Regions from separate parts of the Homo sapiens genome. Here all the other regions are linked to region 2. Evidence: promoter capture Hi-C in 16 types of primary human blood cells and fetal thymus (Javierre and others, 2016). All regions are on one chromosome and are shown on one strand. Each heading gives the region's core, a stretch centred on a gene start or on the middle of the fragment in contact. The rest is flanking DNA. Distances are from core to core; before and after follow the strand shown.

The links. The method cuts DNA at HindIII sites, captures the fragments that hold promoters and counts their contacts. A CHiCAGO score of 5 or more calls a contact.
Region 1: a fragment that was not itself captured here is called in contact with the fragment with the promoter of GSPT2 in region 2 in 1 of 17 cell types (fetal thymus); the score reaches 5.2 in fetal thymus.
Region 3: a contact is called between a fragment that was not itself captured here and the fragment with the promoter of GSPT2 in region 2, in 4 of 17 cell types (activated CD4 T cells, non-activated CD4 T cells, total CD4 T cells and 1 more). The highest score is 6.4, in activated CD4 T cells.

What each region holds. Positions count from the first base shown.
Region 1 is chrX:51,875,625-51,878,869 of GRCh38, forward strand. It overlaps a transcript of MAGED1 not described here. Among named protein-coding and RNA genes, the nearest start is that of MAGED1, 16 kb to the right of the region's middle. The HindIII fragment of the contact is 2,245 bases long and covers 528-2,772 here.
Region 2 is chrX:51,741,776-51,745,273 of GRCh38, forward strand. GSPT2 (G1 to S phase transition 2) reads left to right here and starts at 1,667. Exons shown (of 1, transcript NM_018094.5): 1 at 1,667-3,498. The coding sequence starts at 1,852. The HindIII fragment of the contact is 6,668 bases long and covers 1,026-3,498 here.
Region 3 is chrX:51,934,091-51,937,672 of GRCh38, forward strand. No RefSeq gene overlaps it. Among named protein-coding and RNA genes, the nearest start is that of MAGED1, 42 kb to the left of the region's middle. The HindIII fragment of the contact is 840 bases long and covers 1,569-2,408 here.

The DNA of each region.
Region 1 (3,245 bases), core at 400-2,899, 130 kb after region 2:
AATTATTTTCTTTTCTTTTACAGTTGTTTGACCTTCTCACTACTGCCAAGTATCACAAATGAGTGACAGTTATAATTTTTTTATCAAATGAGAAAAGCCTGAGAATAAGAAATGTATTCAAAATCAGGGATTTGAGGAACAATTTGGGTCACAGGGGAATGTGGCCATATATTACAAGGATAACTCCTCATGACTCTAACCACAAGGAACTTCTGAGCATAAAGACAAGTTAGAAAAGGAGATTAACCTTCTTTCAAAGGATAGATGTTTAAGGCTTGGGGTAGATATTCACAGGATTGGTTCCCAGCCAGGGGGCTTCCAAGACTATAGTAAGTGTTAGAGTAATTGTGCTCTAATCTCAGACATCCTACGGGAGGATGAAACCATACATAGGACAAACCCACACCCACACCCATAGTGTGGGTCACATGACCATAGCTTCAGACCAATTTCAGAGACTATAAATCAGCACGAAAAGGCCATGATGGTGAGAAAATGTGTGAAGAGCATTGAAGAGCCTTTGGCCAAGCTTCAGATCTTATTAACATCAAATAATTCATTAGCAGAGATAAACTCTATGAATGTAGTGATCATGGATGGTCTTTCTTTCTTTTTTTTTTTTTCTTTTCACATTCAGTTGACTTTGTGGATGGTCTTTCAACCAGAGTTCAAATGTCATTCATTATTGTTAAACACATACTGAAGCCATAGAAATGCAGTCAGTGGAAAAAAGCCTTCAGGAACAAATCAAACCTGAGTAATCATGAGAAATTTCAACCTGGAGAGAAACTGTTGAATATACAAAATGTGATACTCCACTCTGTTCTTATCCCATGCAGACTCCCCCAATCTGTGTAAGTGATTCCTTTGGATCCCTCCTCACATGGCTTTGGTGAGGGAGTTGCATGCCCCTCTCCTTCCTCAAGAAAAAGGAAAACACTCTTCCCCAAGCCAAGGACTCACAACACTGTAAATTCTTATCTAATTCTTTCTAGCTTTCTGAGTACATATGGGCTGAAAAGGAATGGAATGAATACCAGTAGCATGACTAGTATGCTCTCCCCATGTAAGGCCCGTAGGATTGTGTTCAGATCTCCTGGGATGTTCTTTTTAGAATGTGGAGGCACTGGGTACCTTTTTCTTTTCTTTTCTTTTCTTTTCTTTTTAAAGGCTATATGGCTTTAACCAAAATTCTGAGGAAAGTGTGAAAGTTCCATTCAATAACCTGCTAAATTTATATTATCTTTTCTCATTTAATATTACAATAGAAGCATGCTTCTGCCATTAAAAACATCTGAATCGGATTTTTTATCACTTTCAATTTAAAGCATAGTCTTCAAAGGTAAATTACTAAGAAAGTATAGATATTTTTTAGGCTCTAAATATACGTTTCTGAATTGTTTTCTAGTAAAAGGAATATTTGTTTGGCTTTTCAATAGCAAAGGACATCCTCAGCATTTTTTTTAATGGAGAAAATGATAGTGGAAAAGAAAGTCATAGATTGCATTTTTTCCTAGATCAGGAATTCATAAATAAGACTAAGAGGCAAGACACCAACCAAAAAAAGCATTTGCAACAAGTGTGACAGATACAAGGTTAATAACCTTAATGTACAAAGAATTCTCACAGCAAAATACAAATGATTAAGAAACGCTGAGAGTATCTTCCCATCATTAATAATAATAATAAATACAGTTTGAATCAATTAAATGTCATTTTGTCTGTCAAAATGGCAAAGATATTTTCAAAGCAAATGTTCAGCACTGTTAAGGGTATGTGAGAAGTCTTCTGCATTGCTAGTGTTGACAAAAACCTTTCTAGAAAGCAATTTGGTATTATTGAATAACGGCCTTAAAATAGTTCATACCCGTTTGAACTAGTAATTCCATTTCTAATAATATACCATAAAGAAATAATTGGAGGTATGCACAGAGGTTTGTTGGGGGAAAATCACCACAATGATAATCTAGTGAACAAAAATAAATGGAAACAAGATTTTTGTTATTTGGTCAAGTAGGTAAGTTCATATGATGGGATATTACACGTTATCATAAAGAATTTTGCAAAGACTTTTTAATGTCATAGAAAATGTTATGCCAAGATAATTGTGATAAAACATTATATACAAAAAGAATCTCAGATGTAGTATATTAATTACAACTGTGCATGTATGTGTGTGATGTTAGACTTGGTATGGACCATTTTCCCAATGTTTTTCAGATGATTTTTCTTTTATAAAATGAAATCAGGAAATGTCATACTATGTAGCTGAACTCATATGACTTTTCTGAGTCCAGCTATATATCTATTTTAATTGTTGTTAATGTTCCATGATTCCCAAATTAAGTGGTTTATGAGGTTTATATTGATGCTGAACATTGAGGACACATATGGCACTAAATCATATCCCAGGTGTCTGAGAGCATTCAGATATGTCTTGAAATTTTCCAGTGCAAATCAAAGAGGGACTCTATGTCACAAGATACCAGAAGCTCACATGGTAAGGTCATCTGATGCAGTATCAAACAAATATCCCCAAACTGTGCATTGAGGTTCTACTTGCAGGCTTCCTCCCCTTGTCTCTTCTGATAACCTTCTGCTTATTAATGGAATGTGAGTTGCTGTGGTGATGGGGGTGAGGAATTAACTGGAAGGGAATTGTGCAATATGAAGGAAGGTGTAATCTATTTAAGTCTGTAAGAGATTACAAGTCACCAAGAAAGCCTGCGATGGTGAGAAAATGTGTGAAGAGCATTGAAGAGCCTTTAGCCAAGCTTCAGATCTTATTAACATCAAAATTCATTAGCAGTGATGAACTCTATGAATGTAGTAATCATGGATGGTCGTTCAAGCAGAGTTTGGATGTTATTCATTATTGTTAAATACATACTGAAGCCATAGGAACGCATTTGATATAATCCTAAGATGTCACTTTGCCTGCTCTTATGATGCAAATTGGCACCAGAAATCCAGCCAACTTTATTAAAATTGTGGAAATCTGACTGGACTCAGATCCATTAATCCTTGAAAGCAGGTAATACATGTATTTTTGCCATCATTATTTCTCCAGCACTTATCACAATGTGTAGCACTTTACTAGGTATACTTTTAAAATGTTTTAAAATTCTTATACATATATAAATAAAGAAGATAAAATCAAGTTGACTCAAGTCTAGAAAACATGGATGAGGGATTTAAGAATTCTAAAGTGTTTATTCTGAGGCACCATATTGCTTTATGTTTGG
Region 2 (3,498 bases), core at 417-2,916:
GTCCAAGTCTGTCTTTTTTCCTACCCCTAAAGTCTGGAGAACACAATTCTCAAGTTATAATCAGGTACTTGGTTTTATAATATTTTGCTTTGTTGTTGGATTTAAATATCCAACTATGAGGCCAGGCGTGGTGGCTCATGCCTGTAATCCCAGCACTTTGGGAGGCCGAGGCAGGTGGATCACCTGAGGTCAGGAGTTCAAGACCAGTCTGGCCAACATGGTGAAACCCTGTCTCTACTAAAAATATATATTAAGAAAAATTAGCTGAGCTTGGTGGCGGACGCCTGTAATCCCAGCTACTCAGGAAGCTGAGGCAGGAGAATTGCTTGAACCCAGGAGGCAGAAGTTGCAGTGAGCTGAGATCATGCCACTGCACTCCAGCCTGGGCAACAAAAGTGAAACTTTGTCTCAAAATAAAAAAATAAATCCATCTATGTGACACCATCTTGTACTAAGCAGATTGTTTGGACTGAATAGTCTTTCTAGGTATGTCACAAAACCTGAATTCATAAAAGCAAAAGGTGACAGATTTGAGTACATGAAGACTAAAAACAGATTCAGAGAATAAGTTTGTATTTTCTATGTCAGTTTGCACTAAATTAATTTACAAACAAGGTCGCTGAGGCTTTGACTCAACTGTTAACACTTTCTGAGAGTGAGATTCTTTTGATTAGGGTCTTAAGGTCTTTGTTCATCTCAGAAGTCTTAATTGGTTTAATTAGGCTGACACCTACAGCCCTGTCTCATTACCATAAACTGTAGAGGGGTTCAACATGACACTGATTGTTTCTTAGAGCAAAGCCAGTGCAGTGAGTAGGATTCCAGGCCCCCCGGAATGAAGCAGGAAAACCCGAGGCCTGTGGATGCAGGATGTACTAGGGAGGTGCTGGGGAGTAGTGCAGATAAACCCAGAATTCAGTTGGTTGGTAAAACAAGAGTGATCTGAGTCCTGTGCTTGTCTACGTGATCCACCATTGAATGGCAGGCCAGCCATTGTGCAGGCATCTGCATATGAAGTGACTGGAAGCTTCACTGGAACAAGGATCTCCTTGGAAATTCTCTCCCCTCAGACAGCCAGGGTGCTTAACATGAAAAGAAGTTGTAACCCTATCCTTAAACTATAGAAGCCATCAGCAGAAGTTACAGGCTTATGGGGGCCCACTGGAAAGGGAAAATCAAAAGGCCTGTGGATTTCAAATTAATGAGTGATCTTAAGTTGCATTTCCTAAGTTCGGCTACAGACTCATATATTTCATGAGTCCCTCCCTACCCATTCCTTGCCTCTCCCTTCAGTTGCTGGGTTTCTGAATTTCTGTATAGTTAACCCTTATCTTGCCTCCCATTTGTTCAATAGAAATGATCACTTTTACTTGAATCTTTTGGTAGAATTGTATACCATGTGTTCCTGTCTAGGTTTAATCATCAGATTGTGGTCAAATTGCTCTGCCAGACTGTGTGAACAAAAAAGTGAATGGAAATTTTCGTTTTAAAAAATAATACTTTTGGACTTAGCCCGTGGCTAAGAAGAAGTAAGGAAGCCAAGCGTACGGATAGCAGCGAGGGGTCAATCCACGCCCGGCGTTGGGTCGGGGGTGGAGGAGTCGGAAGTGGTTGGGGTTTGGGGGAGGAGATCCGCTCACACACAAGAGGAGAGTGTTGAGCCGCCATATCTGCTGCTGCCGCCGCAGTTGCGAATGCAGCATCGGCGCTTAGCTGCCTCCGCGGTGCAGCTAAGGTTCGTGTCGCTACCCCTTGGCCCTTCGCTCTTGCTGCCTTAACCCCGCCGGCGGAGCCCGCTCTTCTGGCCTGTTGAGCCCGCTCCCTCACTGCCACACAGCAAGTTCCGAGACCATGGATTCGGGCAGCAGCAGCAGCGACTCGGCGCCCGATTGCTGGGACCAGGTGGACATGGAATCCCCGGGGTCGGCCCCGAGCGGGGATGGAGTCTCCTCTGCGGTGGCCGAGGCCCAGCGCGAGCCCCTCAGCTCGGCTTTCAGCCGTAAGCTCAACGTCAACGCCAAGCCCTTCGTGCCTAACGTACACGCCGCGGAGTTCGTGCCGTCCTTCCTGCGGGGCCCGACTCAGCCGCCCACCCTCCCGGCCGGCTCCGGCAGCAACGATGAAACCTGCACCGGCGCGGGATACCCTCAAGGTAAAAGGATGGGACGGGGGGCACCTGTGGAACCTTCCCGAGAGGAACCGTTAGTGTCGCTTGAAGGTTCCAATTCAGCCGTTACCATGGAACTTTCAGAACCTGTTGTAGAAAATGGAGAGGTGGAAATGGCCCTAGAAGAATCATGGGAGCACAGTAAAGAAGTAAGTGAAGCCGAGCCTGGGGGTGGTTCCTCGGGAGATTCAGGGCCCCCAGAAGAAAGTGGCCAGGAAATGATGGAGGAAAAAGAGGAAATAAGAAAATCCAAATCTGTGATCGTACCCTCAGGTGCACCTAAGAAAGAACACGTAAATGTAGTATTCATTGGCCATGTAGACGCTGGCAAGTCAACCATCGGAGGACAGATAATGTTTTTGACTGGAATGGTTGACAAAAGAACACTGGAGAAATATGAAAGAGAAGCTAAGGAAAAAAACAGAGAAACCTGGTATTTGTCCTGGGCCTTAGATACAAATCAGGAGGAACGAGACAAGGGTAAAACAGTCGAAGTGGGTCGTGCCTATTTTGAAACAGAAAGGAAACATTTCACAATTTTAGATGCCCCTGGCCACAAGAGTTTTGTCCCAAATATGATTGGTGGTGCTTCTCAAGCTGATTTGGCTGTGCTGGTCATCTCTGCCAGGAAAGGAGAGTTTGAAACTGGATTTGAAAAAGGTGGACAGACAAGAGAACATGCGATGTTGGCAAAAACGGCAGGGGTAAAACATTTAATAGTGCTTATTAATAAGATGGATGATCCCACAGTAAATTGGAGCATCGAGAGATATGAAGAATGTAAAGAAAAACTGGTGCCCTTTTTGAAAAAAGTAGGCTTCAGTCCAAAAAAGGACATTCACTTTATGCCCTGCTCAGGACTGACCGGAGCAAATATTAAAGAGCAGTCAGATTTCTGCCCTTGGTACACTGGATTACCATTTATTCCGTATTTGGATAACTTGCCAAACTTCAACAGATCAATTGATGGACCAATAAGACTGCCAATTGTGGATAAGTACAAAGATATGGGCACTGTGGTCCTGGGAAAGCTGGAATCCGGGTCCATTTTTAAAGGCCAGCAGCTCGTGATGATGCCAAACAAGCACAATGTAGAAGTTCTTGGAATACTTTCTGATGATACTGAAACTGATTTTGTAGCCCCAGGTGAAAACCTCAAAATCAGACTGAAGGGAATTGAAGAAGAAGAGATTCTTCCAGGATTCATACTTTGTGATCCTAGTAACCTCTGCCATTCTGGACGCACGTTTGATGTTCAGATAGTGATTATTGAGCACAAATCCATCATCTGCCCAGGTTATAATGCGGTGCTGCACATTCATACTTGTATT
Region 3 (3,582 bases), core at 739-3,238, 190 kb after region 2:
GGTTTTCTTCTAGGGTTTTTATGGTTTTAGGTCTAACGTTTAAGTCTTTAATCCATCTTGAATTAATTTTTGTATAAGATGTAAGGAAGGGATCCAGTTTCAGCTTTCTACATATGGCTAGCCAGTTTTCCCAGCACCATTTATTAAATAGGGAATCCTTTCCCCATTGCTTGTTTTTCTCAGGTTTGTCAAAGATCAGATACTTGTAGATACATGGCGTTCTTTCTGAGGGCTCTGTTCTGTTCCATTGATCTATATCTCTGTTTTGGTACACATTTTCTTTATCTATTACACTACTGATGGGCACCTGGGTTGGTTCCATGTCTTTGCTGTTGTAAATAGCATGGTAATGAACTTATGAATGCATGTTTCTTTTAGGTATAATAATCTATTTTCTTTTGGATATATATCTAGTAATGGGATTGCTGGGTCAAATTGTAGCTCTGTTTTAAGTTCTTTGAGAAATGTCCAGCTCTGTTTTAAGTCCTTTGAGAAATATCTAGACTACTTTCCACAGTGGCTAGACTAATTTACATTCCCACCAATAGCATATAAGCATTCCTTTTTCTCTGCAGCCTTGCCAGCATCTGTTGTTTTTTTAACTTTTTAATAACAGCCATTCTGAGTGGTGTTAAATGGTATCTCATTATGATTTTGATTTGCATTTCTCTAATGATAGTGATGTTGAGCATTTTTTCGTATGTTCTTTGGCCACTTGTATGTCTTCTTTTGAGAAGTGTCAGCCAGGTGTGGTGACACATGCCTGTAATCCCAGCACTTTGGGAGGCTGAGGAGGGCAGATTGCTTGAGTCCAGCAGTTCAAGGCTAGCCTAGGCAACATGGTGAAACCCTGTCTCTACAAAAAACAAAAAAGTTAGCCGGGTGTGGTGATGCACACCTGTAGTTCCAGCTGCTCAGGAGGCTGAAGTGGGAGGATCACTTGAGCCTAGGAGATTGAGGCTGCACTGAGCCATAATTTTGCTACTGCACTCCTTCCTGGGTGACAGAGTGAGACCCTGTCTCAAATAAACAACAACAACAACAACAAAACACACACACACAAAAACAGAGAAATGTTCATGTCCTTTGCCCATCTTAAATTTTTTTTGCTTGTTGAATTATTTAAGTTCCTTGTAGATTCTGGATATTAGACATTTGTTGAATGCATAGTTTGAGAATACTTTCACCTATTCTGTAGGCTGTTTACTCCGTTGATAATTTCTTTTGCTGTGCAGAAGCTCTTTAGTTTAATTAGGTCCTACTTGTCAATTTTTGGTTTTGTTGCAATTTCTATTGAGGACTTTTAGCCAATAATTCTTTCCCAAGATCAACGTCCAGAATGGTGTTTTTAAGGTTTTCTTCTAGGATTCTTATCGTTTAAGGTATTGTATTTAAATCTTTAATCCATCTTGAGCTGATTTTTGTATATGGTGTAAGGAACGGGGTCCAGTTTCAATCTTCTGCTTATGGCTAGCCAGTTATCCCAACACCATTTATTGAATAGAGAGTTCTTTCCTCCTTGCTTATTTTTGTCAACTTTGTTGAAGATCAGATGGCTGTGGGTGTGAAGCTTCATTTCTGGGTTCTTTATTCTCTTCCATTGGTTTATGTTTCCGTTTTTGTACCAGTACCATACTGCTTTGGTTACTGTAGCCTTATAGCATGGTTTGAAGTTGGGGAATGTGCTGCCCAGGACCAAATTTTAAATTTTGTTTACTAGCTCTGTGGCTTTGTCTAGTTCATGCAATATGTATGTCTATGCCTCAGCTTCTTGTCTGTAAAATGAAGATGCTGACATCCACTTCCCAGAGCTGCTATGAGAGGAAGACAAGCCCCATAACAGATCCTGCTGTGATATCCAAGTCTGCCTTGCCCTTCTGTCCTTCCCCAGCACACACAAAATAAGTTCATTGCTGGGCCTACACAACAGGCAGGGAAGATACAGGCAATTCATGAGTGAGGTGCTCATGTGGAGGCACTCGGCCCCCATTTATGCGTCTTCTCTCAGTCCTTGCTTTTCCTCAGCCCTAGAGCTGAGGAGTTTTTCAAGAGGTATTTGATGTAGCACTTGTTTCAGTTAGAGGCCCTCATAAAGATCTCTTTTAGAGAAGCAGCTGATATCTTCTACTGGCCACCTTGTGGAAAGTCCTGTGGTTCACAGTATTTCATGTTGTTGACACTCAGCAAAGATACTGCCTAAGGAGGCTGATCCATGGCAATTGGACTCACAGAAGTAATTATAGAACAGAAGCCAATTTATTAACATAAACTCATTTTGACTGCCTGGTGCTCACTCTTGTGCACCTTCTCTCCCAATAAAGGAAAACAGTCACAGGTAACTTGAGGGAGGGGAATTGATGGTCATGTCAGTGGCTGGAATTCTTGAGTTAAAATTTTCCATTCACAGAAGCTTTTACATGGAATGTCTGGTTACAAATTTTGGTGGTCTGCAGACAAGTTAGTTTGTCTATGTTCCAAGTTTGAAGCATGAAGAAACAGAAAAACCAAATAGACCAATAATAAGTAAAGACATTGGATCAATAAGAAAGCCTCCCAACAACAAAAGGCCAGGGACCAAATAGCTTCATTTTTGAATTCTACCAAACTTTAAAAGAAAAACTAATATCAATTTATCTCAAAATATTTCCAAAAATTGAAGATGAGGGAATTCTCCCTAACTCATCCTATAAGCCTAGCATTACCCTGGGCCCATACAAAAATCAAAATCAGACAAGGCCCCCCCCCACCCCAAAAAATGAAATTACAGTACAATATTTCTGATGAGTACTGATGCAAAAATCCTCCACAAAATATTAGCACACTGAATCCAACAGCATATCAAACAGGTTATTCACTATGAGCAAGCTAAATTTATTCTAGGGATGCAATAATGGTTCAACATGCACGTATCTATAAATGTGACAAATGTGACACATAACATTAACAAATGAAGGATGAAAAGCATATGATTATCTCAATAGATGTGGAAAACTCATTTGACAAAGTTCAGCATCTCTTCACGATAAAAAACCTCTCAACAAATTAGGCATAAAAAGAACATTCCTCAAAAAAATGAAGGCCATATATGACAAACCCACCACTAACATTATACTTAATGGAGAAAAATAGAAAGTCTTTCCTTTAAGATCTGGAACAAGACAAGAATGCCCATGTACACCACTTTTGTTCAACATAGTATTGGAAATCCTAGCTAGAGCAATTAGGCAAGAAAAAGAAATAAAGAGCATTTATATTGGAAAAAAATAAGTCAAATTGTCCTTGTTTTCAGATGACATAATCTTATACTTAGAAAAACTTAACAACCCCACCAAAAAAACTTGAAACTGATAAATGAATTCAGTAAAGAGGCAGGATACAAAATCAGGACTCACAAATCAGTAGCATTTATATATACCAACAGCAAACAATCTGAAAAAAGGAATCAAGACATCAATTCCATTTACAATAGCTATAAAAATGGAATACTTAAGAATTAATTAAACAAAGAAGTCAAAGATCTCTGCAATGAAAACTATAAAACACCGATGAAGGATATTGAAGAGGACACAAAAAACGGAAATA